Linked DNA regions of Homo sapiens: regions 1, 3 and 4 are each linked to region 2. The links are contacts of gene promoters, found by promoter capture Hi-C in blood cells and fetal thymus (Javierre and others, 2016). All regions are on one chromosome and are shown on one strand. Each heading gives the region's core, a stretch centred on a gene start or on the middle of the fragment in contact. The rest is flanking DNA. Distances are from core to core; before and after follow the strand shown. Region 1 overlaps COL9A3 (collagen type IX alpha 3 chain). Region 2 holds the start of MIR1-1HG (MIR1-1 host gene). Region 3 overlaps OGFR (opioid growth factor receptor). Region 4 holds the start of BHLHE23 (basic helix-loop-helix family member e23).

The links. Contacts are between HindIII fragments. The CHiCAGO score rates a contact against its expected background, and 5 or more counts as called.
Region 1: a fragment that was not itself captured here is called in contact with the fragment with the promoter of MIR1-1HG in region 2 in 1 of 17 cell types (total CD8 T cells); the score reaches 5.2 in total CD8 T cells.
Region 3: a fragment that was not itself captured here is called in contact with the fragment with the promoter of MIR1-1HG in region 2 in 3 of 17 cell types (naive CD8 T cells, neutrophils and total CD8 T cells); the score reaches 7.0 in naive CD8 T cells.
Region 4: the fragment with the promoter of BHLHE23 here is called in contact with the fragment with the promoter of MIR1-1HG in region 2 in 7 of 17 cell types (neutrophils, erythroblasts, activated CD4 T cells and 4 more); the score reaches 13.0 in neutrophils.

Annotation. Positions count from the first base shown.
Region 1 is chr20:62,833,852-62,837,432 of GRCh38, reverse strand. It overlaps COL9A3 (collagen type IX alpha 3 chain), which reads right to left. Exons shown (of 32, transcript NM_001853.4): 27 at 1,480-1,512; 28 at 1,100-1,246; 29 at 901-955; 30 at 168-350. Among named protein-coding and RNA genes, the nearest start is that of COL9A3, 19 kb to the right of the region's middle. RefSeq lists enhancers at 445-1,644, 3,168-3,581. The HindIII fragment of the contact is 341 bases long and covers 1,364-1,704 here.
Region 2 is chr20:62,549,031-62,552,194 of GRCh38, reverse strand. It overlaps MIR1-1HG (MIR1-1 host gene), which reads right to left and starts at 1,742. Exons shown (of 4, transcript NR_171007.1): 1 at 1,157-1,742. It overlaps CRMA (cardiomyocyte maturation associated lncRNA), which reads left to right and starts at 634. Exons shown (of 7, transcript NR_033263.1): 1 at 634-769. RefSeq lists an enhancer at 780-1,655. The HindIII fragment of the contact is 7,236 bases long and covers 1-3,164 here.
Region 3 is chr20:62,811,383-62,814,597 of GRCh38, reverse strand. It overlaps OGFR (opioid growth factor receptor), which reads right to left. Exons shown (of 7, transcript NM_007346.4): 6 at 2,988-3,136; 7 at 598-2,368. The coding sequence ends at 949. Among named protein-coding and RNA genes, the nearest start is that of COL9A3, 4.1 kb to the left of the region's middle. The HindIII fragment of the contact is 7,148 bases long and covers 1-3,215 here.
Region 4 is chr20:63,005,027-63,008,600 of GRCh38, reverse strand. It overlaps BHLHE23 (basic helix-loop-helix family member e23), which reads left to right and starts at 1,637. Exons shown (of 1, transcript NM_080606.4): 1 at 1,637-2,674. The coding sequence starts at 1,827. The coding sequence ends at 2,552. RefSeq lists enhancers at 505-1,212, 1,213-1,918. The HindIII fragment of the contact is 10,733 bases long and covers 1-3,574 here.

The sequences.
Region 1 (3,581 bases), core at 285-2,784, 290 kb before region 2:
GGATTACCAAGGAGTTAACTGCGCTAGGCCCCAAAACATGAGAGGCCCCCACGTTCCAGGGGTTACCCCTGAGGGCGCATGGCAGGCACCAGAAGCAGCGCCTACTAACAAGTCAGTCTCAGGGATTTTTACAGCAGGGTGACCGTGTCATGGGGTCAAACACTCACCTCTGGGCCCGGGGTCTCCCAGCTCCCCAGTGGGACCGCGGTATCCAGGGGGTCCTCGAGCGCCAGGGTGACCAATGGAGCCTGGGGGTCCTGGGGGCCCAGGGGGGCCAGCTGGACCGGGCCGACCAATGGACCCGGGTGCCAAAGGCTTCCTTAGGTGCGCGGCTAACTGTGCAATTTGTTCTTTGGGAAAACAAGGGTGCAGGCGTTTACTCGAGAGAGGATCATCAGAAGTATTGTTACGTAAAGCATAAAATATCTACACGGTGCTGTCTTCCAGAAGCAAGTTTTCCTTCTGATTGATGGAAAATGGTTTAACTGCTTTGGGGTGATGAATGCTGGAGCTAGAAAGGACCCCCAACCCCTTGGAGCCTGAGAAGCCTGAGTGGGAAGGTGAAGGAAGTGCCCTTGGGGGTGTTTAGGGACCTGCCCTGCCAGCCACAGGGGCACACTCCGCTGTTCTTGTACCCATTGCATTCAGCAGGCTTTAGGGCGTCTGCTGCGTGCTGGGAATCTGGTTGAATCCGGGGCGGGAGCGTGGGCCATCCTCTAGCGCAGAGGACAGGCAGACGCCAAGGCGGACGTGGACCCCCAAGGGCTAACAGGCGGGGTGAGTGCTAGGGGCTCACTTTGGCTGGAAAGCAGTGGCACGAAGGCTTTCTGTGTAGCCCCAGGCACGGGACCCCCAGGCGGGGATGGGCCCCGCTGCAGCCGGTGCACGTGGCTGACTTACCGCTGATCATCCCCCCACACAGCTCCCTGATGCGCTGCTCGCTGGCCTCCTTCCCCTGGAATTCACCCCACACATTCGTCAGCATGGGGGCGGCAGCCTCGGTGAGGCATTCCCACCGTCACCCCGCAAAGTAACTTCCTTCCGGAAAAAACACGATCTCAACCCTGTGAAAGCTGGAAAAGCCGGAAAAGCGACGTACCGGAACTCCCGGCTTCCCCGTGATGCCAGGAACACCCGGGACGCCCTGCAGGCCCAGAGGACCGGGGGGCCCGGGGACACCCTGAACACCGCTGGTGCCGTTGGGACCCTGGGTGCCTTTGGGGCCCAGCTCCCCTCGACTGCCAGACTGCAGAGGAACAGAGGAAGGTGGGTCAGGGGCGAGCCCAGGAGCCCAGAGCCACCCCGACGTGCTCTTTCCCAGCCGGCACGGAGCCGTCTTGCCCAGCCTTGACCAGAGCAAGCTTTTTTACATCTCGGATCTGGGCAGTGCCCTGCAGGGCTGCCTGGTTGCCCAGAGGTGGGCAGGAAGCCAGCAGGCGCCCATGGATGGTGTCATCGGAACAGTCGCCGGGCACTCACCTCTCCTTTGGGTCCGACCAGGCCGCTGGGACCCTGTGAAGAGAAAAGTTGTGTGTTTGAACTAAGTGTATTGTTGGGTGGGTGGGAAGTAGCCAGTTGAGGATAAAATAAATCAAATCATCCACACACCTGCTATTAGACTACATCCAAATATTGACAGTGGTTCCTTCCGTTCTTCTATATACATTTTTTATATTTCTGTGATTGCACTGATTGATTGAAGCTTTTTAAAAACTTACTTTCCTGGGAAGAGTGACTTTGTTAGCTGCACGGTGCTGTCTCTTACACACGCTTACTTTGCTTCCATTCCTTTTTCTTACTAACACGCCTAATGCTGGGCTGAACCTCTCTGCCCTAAAACCCTGGAACCCCCTCCAGCTGGGTCCTCAGGAATGACTGGCCCCAGGTGCGTCAACACACAGTCAGCCGGGTTAATGTCTCCTCCAAAACACATGCTGCAATTGAACGGCCACTGCACTGCAATGCTATTAAGAGGTGATTAGGTTTGAGAGCTCGGCTCTCCGGAGTAAACTAACACCGTTGTCTCCGCAGTGGGTTCCTCATGAAAAGGATGGGTTGGGCCCCTTTCTCTCTCTGGCACCTCCTCTTGGCCCTTCTGCCTTCCACCATGGAATGACGCAGTGGGGAGGCCCTCGATGGATGCACCCCTCGGTCTTGGGCTTCCCAGCCTCCAGAACTAGGAGCCACATGGATCTCTTTCCCTTGTAAACTACCCAAGCTGCGGTGTTCTGTTACAGCTGCAGAATACAGACTGACACAGTCTAACCGCACAGCAGAGGGACCGACCGGGCCCAGACAGCATGCTCCGCGGAGGCCAGGAGGGTAGGGGGTCACCTCACACAGCCCGACCGTGCGAGTAGCTGAGAGCAAAGCCTTAGGTTTTCCGCCTGCAAGGGGCTCTGCCCCTCACCCCACCAGCAACAGTGGCCACGTAGGGCAGCTTCTGGGATTTCCAGGGTCCATTTGTCAGTGTTGTCTAAGAATTCACTAAATGGGCTGGGCGAGGTGGCTCACGCCTGTAATCCCAGCACTTTGGGAGGCCAAGGCGAGCGGATCACAAGGTCAGGAGTTTGAGACCAGCCCGGCCAACATGGTGAAACCCCATCTCTACTAAATACAAAAATTAGCCGGGTGTGATGGTGGGCACCTGTAGTCCCAGCTACTCGGGAGGCTGAGGCAGGAGAATCGCTTGAACGCAGGAGGCAGAGATTGCAGTGAGCTGAGATCACACCACCGCACTCCAGCCTGGGGACAGAGCAAGACTCCGTCTCAAAAAAAAATAAAAAAAGAATTCACTAAATGAAACACATACAACTGAGGTCTTTTGTCCCCAGGCATAAAAAGTTTACACTGGGCTGTGGGGGTCTGCCAGAGACTGGGGTCCCTGGGGCTAGGCTGTTTCTATTTCACCCAGACGCAAAGGAAAGACTTAATCATAGATGAAAACCCCCCTCGGGAAAGCCAGAAAGGCCGTCCTTCCCTCGGACTCACGACTGCTCCATTTGTTACCTCCAGAAGGAGAAATGTGCCTATCAAGGGACTCAAACAAGAACGTAATTTTATGCTTCACCTGAGTTTTAGGCCTGTGGAAGTGGAGTTTTCTTCAGTTAAAAACCAGCTGTGGGCCTGACACGGCGGCTCACGCCTGTAATCCCAGCACTTTGGGAGGCTGAGGCAGGTGGATCACCTGAGGTCAGGAGTTTGAGACCAGCCTGGCCGACATGGTGAAACCCCGTCTCTACTAAAAATACAACAATTAGGCCAGGGGCGGTGGCTCGTACCTGTAATCCCAGCACTTTGGGAGGCCGAGGCGGGCAGATTGCCTGAGGTCGGGAATTCGAGACCAGCCTGGCCAGCATGGTGAAACCTTGTCTCTACTAAAAATACAAACATTAGCTGGGCGTGGTGGCAGGCGCCTGTAATCCCAGCTATTCAGGAAGCTGAGGCAGGAGAATCGCTTGAACTGGGAAGGTTGCAGTGAGCCGAGATGGCGTCACTGCACTCCAGCCTGGGCGAAAGAGCGAGACTCCATCTCAAAAAAAAACAAACAAAACCCCCCAAAACACAAAAAATTAGTCGAC
Region 2 (3,164 bases), core at 493-2,992:
ACGTAGCCAAGGATACAAAAAGGGCACCCGACACCGCAGCCTGAGCTTCAACTTCGGGGGCACCTGGGTTCCGCCGCTCATCTGTGCCCTCCCAAGACCTCCGCAATAACCGTCCCCGGAGTCCAGGGAAAAGGCCTCCTCAACGTCCCCAGCTCCCTGGCACATGAGCTCTCAGAGCCTGGGACACTCCCGCAGCCTGGCTCAAGCCCCCACGACCTGTGAGGCATTCATCTGGACGGGGTCTGGGGGTCAAGGGGAAAGCTGGGAGTCCCAAAGGGCAGGAGAGTCACCCCAGACCCAGCCAGAGTCCACAGGACTTCTGCCCACTCACAAATGAATTGTAGTCACTTTTCAAAAAGTTTCCCGTCTGCATAGAAAAAGAGCACCCAGCCGCCTCCAAGCAGACCCCACCGTGAGCCGAGCTGGCTCCTGTGCCCGGGGCCTCCTCCGGGGCTCTTCAGCGGTGAATACCGCCCGGCCCCCGGCATCAGCGCCGCGGGAGGCCACGCGGGAAGTCAAGCTCCCCAGCAGGGACCTGCACAGACGCCGACCACCAGGGCTGCTCTCCCCGAAGCCCCCCTAGTCTCCGCCCACATGTGCCCCCCGCCCCCCACCTCGCCGCCCTGCCCCTGTAAACGCCTCCTGACCCTGACGTGGCTGGGAGAGCTGCAGAAGTGCCGAGTCCCGGCCGGGGGCAGCCTCGCCGCCGCTCAGCTCGGGAATCCCTGCCCCCCACCAGCACCTCAGTGGGGGATACTGCAAGTTCAAGGTAAGTTTAGCCCCACGCCCGGCTGCCGGGGCTTTGTTGCGGAGCGGCAGGTGAATCGCGCCCCCAGCCCAGCCCCGAAGCCCCCATGCCATCCACTGCCCGCGTGGGGGGCCGCTGCTTTCTTGCAAAATGCCCGCAAGTCAAAGTTCCTGCCTCCCAGCTGGACGCGCCCTCCAGGCCCTGCCGGCTGCTGGCTCTGCAGTTTTCCAAATGTGGATGATGCCGCGAGCCAAGAGAAAACTCCACGGCACCCCCGCCGGAGCCGCACGGCGCCGGCACCCGCAGCACCCACCTCGCTGGCAGGCACACCCCCCACCGCGGTGCCCGGCAAGTTTGCAGGGGCCGTCCCGGCGGCCCAGCGGTGGTGATGGGCTGAGCAGGACTCACCGCGGAGCCCAGGGCACCCCTGGGGCCGGGCTGGTGACAGCGGCAGCGGCGGCGGGCGCAGGGTCGCGGCTCCCTAGGAGATGCTGCAGCGGCGGCAGCACCAGCCACCTCCTCCGGGAGCCAATCGCGAATGCAGGGGTGGGGGCCGAAGCTCGATGCGTCCGCACTTGGTGGGGGCAGAGAGAGAAAGAAGACACCAGGCACCCCCTCTCCACACCCCTGCCCTTCCCCCAGCCCTCCTGCAGCAGCGCAGACTTAGCAGGAGGGAGATCTTGAGAGAGAGAGAGAGAGAGAGAGAGAGAGAGAGAGAGAGAGAAGGCGCTGGTGCAGAGTTAGGGAGAGGCGGCCGAGCTGCACACCTTGAGCCCCGGCCTCCTCCGAAGGGAACCCCTGCACCCCAGCGGGGTCAGCACAAGGTAGAGAAGGTAGAGGTCAGGGTGGAACAAAAGGGAAGGTCCCGCGGGTGTGCACGCTCTCGCAGGCACACAGCCGGCTCGCGGAGACACAGGGGCGGGGGAGGGGAGGGGAGGGGAGGGGAGGGCCTGACCTGAGAGGCCAGAGCGGGCGTGGGGGCCCCCCTCGGGTCAGGAGCCGGCCTCACCTTTGCAGTTCTTATATACCCGGCCAAGCATCCCAAACACGCGGCCCTGGCCAAGTGGCCCCCTCGGGCTGCGCTCCCTGACCATATTTAGTCAAGCAGGGGAAAAAATAGCCTGTCAGCTGGGCCGCGGCTGGCCCGGCCACCGGGAACAGGGTGGGAGCACCCACGCCATTGACGGCGGGTCCCGGGCTCAGGCTGCTGTCCTGCCCCTCCCGGCCCCTCCCTGACAGGCCTCCCACCGGCTGTCCCTGCCCGAGATCCCCCCGCTATTTTTAGCCCAGCCAGTACAGAGGCGCCTCCTCAGTAGCCGGGCAGCAGCCTCCATGCCATGCCAGCCGGCTCCTAGGGTGCCCTGGGGAGACCCGGGCATCTCCCAGGCTGCAGGGCCGGGGGTGGGGGGGGCGGGCAGAATGGTACGGCCTCCTTCGCTGCTCTGAGCCTCCAGTGGGCTGAGCCCACCCAGGCCACCAGGAGTGGGTGGCCCCCTCCACAGTCCCATCGGCTCTGCCCTTTTGCCTAGAATTGGGGCCAGGATCAGGTGGTGACAGAGCCACCTGGGTTTCCGGAGACTCTCAAGCCAACCCCAAGTCATGACAAATGCCAGTCGCCTTGGACAGAGGCAAGGTCAACCTGCTTGCCGCCCCCAGCCAGGCCCTGCCACCAAGGGTGTGTGATGGGGAGACCCCAATCCCGGGTGCTGGACGGGCTCAGGAGCTCCCCCTTCCGGGATTTCACGCCCGAATTATGTAACAGACGAGGGCCTGGGACGGGGCCTGACGGGGATCTGTCCTTGCAGGGCCTGGACGCAGAGACCAGAGGCCTGAACTGGCAGACTGTCCTCACAGGCTGTGTGACGCTGGCTGGTCGTCCCATCTCTCTGGGGCCCCACAGGACTGGGGACCAGGTCGTGGAATGACAGTGGACCACAGTGGTCCGGGGACCCCGCTCGTTGGTGGCAGGCACAGGCCCGTGTGATGGGGACAATGAGCTTTGGTATTTGTGAGTCCTGTCCAGAGCATAGGTCCTCCTGTTCAGAAGCCACCTCATAAATGTCCCCAGTGCCTCCCGGACTTAGGAAGGCATCCCCTTGTGGTTCTGGCCAGTTAGGGACACAGGGCCGGGGAGTCTATGCCGCTCAGAACAGGCTCAGCTGCATCTAATCCCAGGGGAGCCCCTGAGGAGCCTGCACACCCCCCAGGCTGGCCCACAGGAGCTGAGGCAGGGCTCTCCTCCAGGTTCACCTCCTGGGCTCACGGCCCCTTCCCCACATCCCAAGGCCGGCTCTGCAGAGTCATGGGGAGAAGCCGGAGCCCCAGCCACACTCGCCACACACGCCGACACCCACTCTGGTGTCCTCCGGCCAGCGACAGCGAGGGACAGAGGGACGCCCCCTGCACCTGCCCAGTG
Region 3 (3,215 bases), core at 716-3,215, 260 kb before region 2:
TGTCCTTCACTGAGCAAAGACAAGTGTCCGGCCCCTCCTCTGAGGCCCCACAAAAAGCCCCTTACCCTGCTGATGTAGAAATGTAGGGGAACCGGGAAGCGGGGGGTCCTGGCCCAGGGTGACAAGGGCAGACTGCAGGGAGGGACTGCCCTGGGGGCACACCTGGCTCCACCAGACCTGAGGGAGCCAAGGGGCCCGCCAGAGAGTACTGCCAAGCCTGCCCGAGGCACAGCAGCGCATCCCAGATCACAGCAGGCAGAAAGGCCTGGTCCAGACCCCACCATGCACAAGCACTGCCCCGGCCAACCCCAAGGGAAGCCCCAGACTCATCTTGAACAGGTGGCAAAAGCCTGCTGAGGGACCTCGGTTCCACCTTCAGAGGCTCTGGGAGGCTGCAGCCTGCCCACCTGTTCATGCCTGGGGACTGTGTGGCCAAGTGGGTGTGTGGGGAGGGCTGGGCCACCACTCTGCCCCCACAGGCACCTGGTGGAGCAATGTGAGGCGGTCGCCGGGCCAGGCCACTGGAGCCTGGAGGGACATCAGCTGTGACACCAGCCCTACCAGCCACCCAACAGGACCCCGGTCCATACCAAAGACTCAAAGTCAAATGAATTTATTCAGAAAAGGCCTTGCTTGGTATCAGACTAAGAAAAGCAGCCCTGCCCGCCGCCCCCCACTCCAGAAGGGTCAATTTACAAAGACAGGGGCGCAGGGGAGAGCTGGGTGGGGAAGACACAGCCAGGCCAGGAGGCTTCTGCAGGCCTTGGGCTTCCCTGAGGGCCTCGCGGCTTCTGGTGGCTGCTATAGTGGCCCCACAGGAGGCCAGCACTGTGGGTCATGGGTCACGGGTCACGAAGCAGAGCCTGAGGGGAGCCCGCAGCAGCTCCGGAGGCCCCAGCCCCTGCAGCAGGGACAGGAGGACCAAGACGCCGACGGGCACTCCTTTCCTTAAGGCTTCCCAGACTTGGCAGAAGACTCCACCTCTGCGTCCTGCAACTCTGCTGCCTCCCCCGCCTTGGCTGGCTCATCCCTTGTAGGTCCTGCCGGGCTGGGGCCTGGGGTCTCCGATGGGCTCTCGGCTGGCTCGTCCCCTGCAGGTCCTGCCGGGCGGGGGCCTGGGGTCTCCGATGGGCTCTCGGCTGGCTCGTCCCCTGCAGGTCCTGCCGGGCGGGGGCCTGGGGTCTCCGATGGGCTCTCGGCTGGCTCATCCCTTGTAGGTCCTGCCGGGCTGGGGCCTGGGGTCTCCGATGGGCTCTCGGCTGGCTCGTCCCCTGCAGGTCCTGCCGGGCGGGGGCCTGGGGTCTCCGATGGGCTCTCGGCTGGCTCGTCCCCTGCAGGTCCTGCTGGGCGGGGGCCTGGGGTCTCCGATGGGCTCTCGGCTGGCTCGTCCCCTGCAGGTCCTGCTGGGCTGGGGCCTGGGGTCTCCGATGGGCTCCCAGGGGTACCTTCTTTGGGCCCCGTTCGACCTTCTGTGTCCTCCTCAACCCCGTTCTCACTGTGTCCAGCCTTGGGGTGCCCCGATGGGGCAGGGGACCCGGCAAGGGCCAAGGTCTGGGCACCACCACTGGCCACCGCAGCACTGTCCCCAGCACCCTCATCCACCTTCCTCCGCTTCCTCACCTTGTCGGCCACCCTGGCTCCCAGGGGTTGGCGGCAGGGCTGCACTGCCTCCCCAGGGTCCTGACCGCCCACTTCCTGGGTCCCCGTCCTGAGGCTGCCCTGGCTGAGGGCACACCCCTCCAAATTCAGAGCGATCTTCTCCACCTCTGAGGCACTCTGAGGGCCTGGCTCTGTGGGCGGCTGCTCCCGCCGGCTCAGCTCCAGCTTCCTCTTCTTGCTCTCTTTGGGGCTTAAGGGCTCCGGCCTATCTTCCCCGTGGCCCCCTGCCTCATCCCCCTGGCTCCTCTCCAGGGGTCCCGCATCCTGGGGCTCCACGCTCCGTGGCTGGGGCCCCTCGTCCACCCTGCCCCCACCCTTGCTATGCTCTGGCCCACAGGTCCGACCCTGGGTGCTGGCCTCGTGGTCGGGGTCCCCGGGGCTTCCTTCCTCCTCCACCTTCCTGGAGCCCTCGAGCGGATGGGGCAGAGAGCTGGGCTTGAACCTCCGCAGCTTGTCTTGGGGCCCCCAGACGAACTTGCAGCGGGGCCGGAAGTGCTCCCAGGCGAAGTGCACCAGCTGGCGGCGCTGGTGTCGGCAGCGCACGGCGAACATGAAGTAGTCCAGGGCACTCTGCCGCACCCCCGGCAGCTCCCGCCGCACCAGCGTCTCCTCCAGGAAGAAGCGGACCAGCGGCGCCTGGAAGTGCTCGAGGCCCAGCTCACCCAGCGACTTGAGGATGCGTGTGATGCGGAGGTTGTTGTGGCTGCGCCTGCGAGAGATCCGGGTCAGGAGAGGTCAATGGCTGGGGCCCCTCCTGCTGGGCCGCACCCCGCCCTGGCCTGCCCTCCCACCCGGCTCCACGAGGTCTCCCCACCCTGGCCCACGATTCAGTCTCTCTCTCCATTTACCTCTCTGGGCCCAGGGGAGGACTCATGCCATCCCTGTGAAAATGGCCTGTGGGCCCTAGACACACGGGGGTTAGGGGGATGCTGACGCATCACCTAGAGGGTGGCTGTACCCCGAGTCCCCCTGGTGGGGAGGAGCTGGCTGGATGAGAGCCACAAGGGGCCCCTGCAGGGTACAGGCGCCTCGAACACCCTGTGAGAACTGGCTGTACCGCCTGCAGGTTCTCCATCACCCCTGCTTGCTTCTCTATGTGGACTGCCACCTCCTGGGTGCAGGAAGAGCATTCTTTACCTTCTCACCAACCCTATCGGGGAGGGACCGCCCGGCTCTACAGGCAGCAAGGAGGGGACTCAGGGCCTTGGTCCATTGCCCAAACAGCCCTGGAGTTCTCCGTCTGCAGCAGCGCTCTGTGACCTGCCCGAAACCTGACGTGGCCCTGTTCTGCGCCGGGGTGGGGGTGGGCGGGAGCAGCCGGGCCTCACCAGTTCAGGTTCTGGAAGCGCTTCTGGTAGTTCTGTGCTCGGCCCACCGTGCCCGTGCCTCGGTCCTCCAGCCGGATCCCGTAGAAGCCCAGCATGAGCTCGTAGGCCCGGACAAGCCGCTCCTGGATCTCCTGGGAGCTTTTAAACACCTGGAAAAGACCCCCTTGGAGAGCTCAGGCACCATCCCTGAAGCCCCGGTTCCTGAGTGTGGGGGTGGCCGTGGGTCCC
Region 4 (3,574 bases), core at 388-2,887, 460 kb before region 2:
CCGCGTGATTCAAACTGTCCCACAGGCCTGGTCCCGCCCCTCTATCTCCTGGCCCCACCCGGGCCCCTCACTGCCCTTCCCTGTGCCAGGCCTCCTCCGGCCACCTGAATGCTCCCCCGACCCCGGCCCGTGGCCACAATGACACCCACTCACCCTTCAGACCCAGGCCCAAACACAGCGGCCTCCTCCACACCAGGTATCCTCAATTCCCGGTCTGTGCATCAGCCCCGAAGGCGGGGTGGGGTCCCAGGACAGCGCCTCAGACAGACGCTTCCATCCTCGGGGCCCCTGCGCTCCTGGCGGGCGTGTGCTGGGGGTGAGGCCGGTGCTGCAGGACGCGCAGCCAGACAGGCCGCCAGCCCGGCAGAGGCTGCCTCAGACCCATTCCCCTCCGCCAGGACAAAGGCCTGAGTTTCCCACGGAGACTTATCCATGCATCTGTCTCCTCACACCCCGCACCTGGCAGGGAACCACCGGACAGGCCGGTCACTGCTGCGTTCCCAGAACCTTCCAGACAGCACATCCGCCCCACACACGTGCAGCTCCCACTCCCCTCCCGGGGCTGCGCACACTGCCCCATCGCTGTGGCTCCTCCTGGGGCGGAGCCTGGAGAACAGGGAGGGTATGCGGCCCTTCCCAGGTCACACAGAAGGGCCCGACGGGCCGCTCCACCTCGTGCCATAGGCCAGGGTGGCCCAGTCTCCCACCCAAGCCAGGACCGGAGAAGCCACTATCCCTCAGCACACTCTAGCCTCAGCACTCGGCCGGGCCTCCAGGCAGGTTCCCACCTGGGAGAAGGGCTGGGGTTCTGGCCTTCATGCGGGGTTGGAAGAGGACTGAAAAGGCGAGTCCGAGGCTGGCCACATTCCCATCCAGTGTGGCTGGACCCCAGGGGTTCGGAGGCTCCGGGAAAGCCCACCAAGCCTCACGCGTTTCGCTGATAGATGCCCAGGAAGCGGCTGGCAGGGAAGAGGCGGTCCTGCAGCTCACAGAGCTCCCCTCCCACCCCCGGGGAGCCCCAGGCCGCGCTGCCCTCCACCTTCCCGCCCTCCCCGGCCTGCAACGCTCGTGGCGTTTTTCAACAGGTTCTAGAAACTCCCTCTCACTCTGCCCCTCAAGCCTGGCCACAGGGCGCCCCGAGCAGGGAGTGTGCGGGCTCCGGGTACACGCTGCGCCGCGGCTGCACCAGAGCGCCCACGACCCTGACCCCGACCCGAAGCGGCCCCTCAGCGGGACAGGGTGTTGGCGCTGGCGCTGCTGCTATTGCGGCGCGCCCCCCCGCTCTGGCCCCTGCGTGTCGCCAGGGACTCTTGCGCTAGGGTCAGACTCAAAGACGGACCGAGGCGGGTGCCCACCTGGGACGCGTGCGTTTGGTGGCGGAATCCCCGGGGCGGCCGGAGGCGGCGGCCGGGGAGTCGAGAAGCAAGTACTAGCGCTCCAGGACCGCGCGCGCCGCCCCGCGCCGCCCCGCGCCGCCCCTCGGTCCAGAGCCCCCACCCCCGGCCTGTGAGCCTGCGGCGCTGGTGGAGCCCGGCTCCAGGAAGAGGAGCTCACCCGGTCCCCCCTGATTGGACAGCAGCGAGGTCCCACCGGGCGCCTCCGCGGCTTAAAACCGAAGCGGGGGCGAGGGGGAGGTAGAGCCCGCCCCCTGCGCGTCGCGGCTGGGAGGGAGAGGAGGTGGGAGAGAAGGAAGAGGCGGAGGAGGCAGCGGGCGCCGAGGCTCTGGGACCCGCAGGCAAGCCAGACCGACGCGCAGAGCCGGGAGCCTCATCGCAGCGGCAGCGGCAGCGGCGGGCTCGGGCCGGCCTCGGGGGCTGCTCACCCACATGAGCATCCGCCCACCCGGCGAGCCCCCGAGCCCAGGCGGCGCGGCCATGGCCGAGCTCAAGTCGCTGTCGGGGGACGCGTACCTGGCACTAAGCCACGGCTACGCGGCGGCGGCTGCGGGTCTCGCCTACGGGGCGGCGCGAGAACCCGAAGCGGCCCGCGGCTACGGCACTCCGGGCCCGGGCGGCGACCTCCCCGCGGCGCCTGCACCTCGCGCCCCAGCTCAGGCGGCGGAGAGCAGCGGCGAACAGAGCGGGGACGAGGACGACGCCTTCGAGCAGCGGCGGCGGCGGCGCGGGCCAGGGAGCGCGGCGGACGGGCGGCGGCGGCCGCGAGAGCAGCGGTCTCTGCGGCTCAGCATCAACGCGCGCGAGCGGCGGCGCATGCACGACCTAAACGACGCGCTGGACGGGCTGCGAGCCGTCATCCCCTACGCGCACAGCCCGTCGGTGCGCAAGCTCTCCAAGATCGCCACGCTGCTGCTCGCCAAGAACTATATCCTCATGCAGGCGCAGGCCCTGGACGAGATGCGGCGCCTGGTGGCCTTCCTCAACCAGGGCCAGGGCCTGGCCGCGCCCGTAAACGCCGCGCCCTTGACGCCCTTCGGCCAGGCCACTGTGTGCCCCTTCTCCGCAGGCGCCGCCCTGGGGCCCTGCCCTGACAAGTGCGCCGCCTTCTCCGGGACGCCCTCCGCGCTTTGCAAACACTGTCACGAGAAGCCGTGACCGCGCGGGCCCCCGGCCCTCCCGCACGCGTCCTCCGATCGCCCCTGTGACTGTCTCTCTGCCCGGACAGGAAAGGCCTGGAGGGACCCTGCAGACCAGGAGGAGGGGGCCCGACTTCGCTTCCAGCCTGTGCGCGGTGGACAGTTTAGCGCAGCGGGAAGCGCCAAGGCCGTCGGGGCGCGGGATTGAGCTCGAGAGCCGGACGCTGGACTCTGCGCCCGGGAACTCGCGGCACCCACTGGGTATTGTCGGGACCCAGCAAGTCTAGGAACGGGGGTGGGTAGAGCATCCTTCGGGCACTGCCGTTCGTCCCCAAAAGAAGACCACCGCGGGGTCCCAGGGCCACGGCGAGGACGGGCACTGGTCAGATTCCGGACAGGCGGTCCTGGCCCCGGGCGCACGAAAGGTGGAGACGAAGAAAAGCCGGACTTACTGGCTCCTGATCCTCTTGCAGTGGGCCTCGCGCTCCCGCTCCAGCCGGCCCTTCGTGCTAAACTGCAGGGCAGTGCTCTGTTCCTGAGGACGCGCGTGGCCGGCACCTCCCACCTCGGTGACTCCGAGACTCCGCAGCCCTGCGGAGAGCCCACGATGGCCGTCTGCAGAGGAGCTGGACCGCGGGCGCAGGAAGACCCCGGGGAAGGCCTTTTCCAAGTAGGAGTTTGTTCTATTTATTTGGGAATTGGACGCCGTCGCCGGCTGCCTCGAAGTCTGAGGAATTTGTCCCCTAAATGTCCCCTGGCCTCCCCCCCCCGCCGCCATCCGCTGCCTGGGACGTCCGCGGGGTGGAGTTGGATGGAGACCGCTTTGCGGGCCCTCTGCCTCGGGGGGCTGCGTGGAGGAGGGTCCTCACAGCCCGCGCCCTACTTAACCCTGACGGTCAGGGGAGGGCCCCGTCTAGCCCTGGTGTCCAGCAAACCCCCTCCCCACCGATCCCCTCTCCCTTCCGAGGGAGGAGGCCGGGCTACGGGTGAGTAAGCTGCTGCGGGCCCCGTGCCCCGCCGGGTGTGAACGGAGATGCGCTG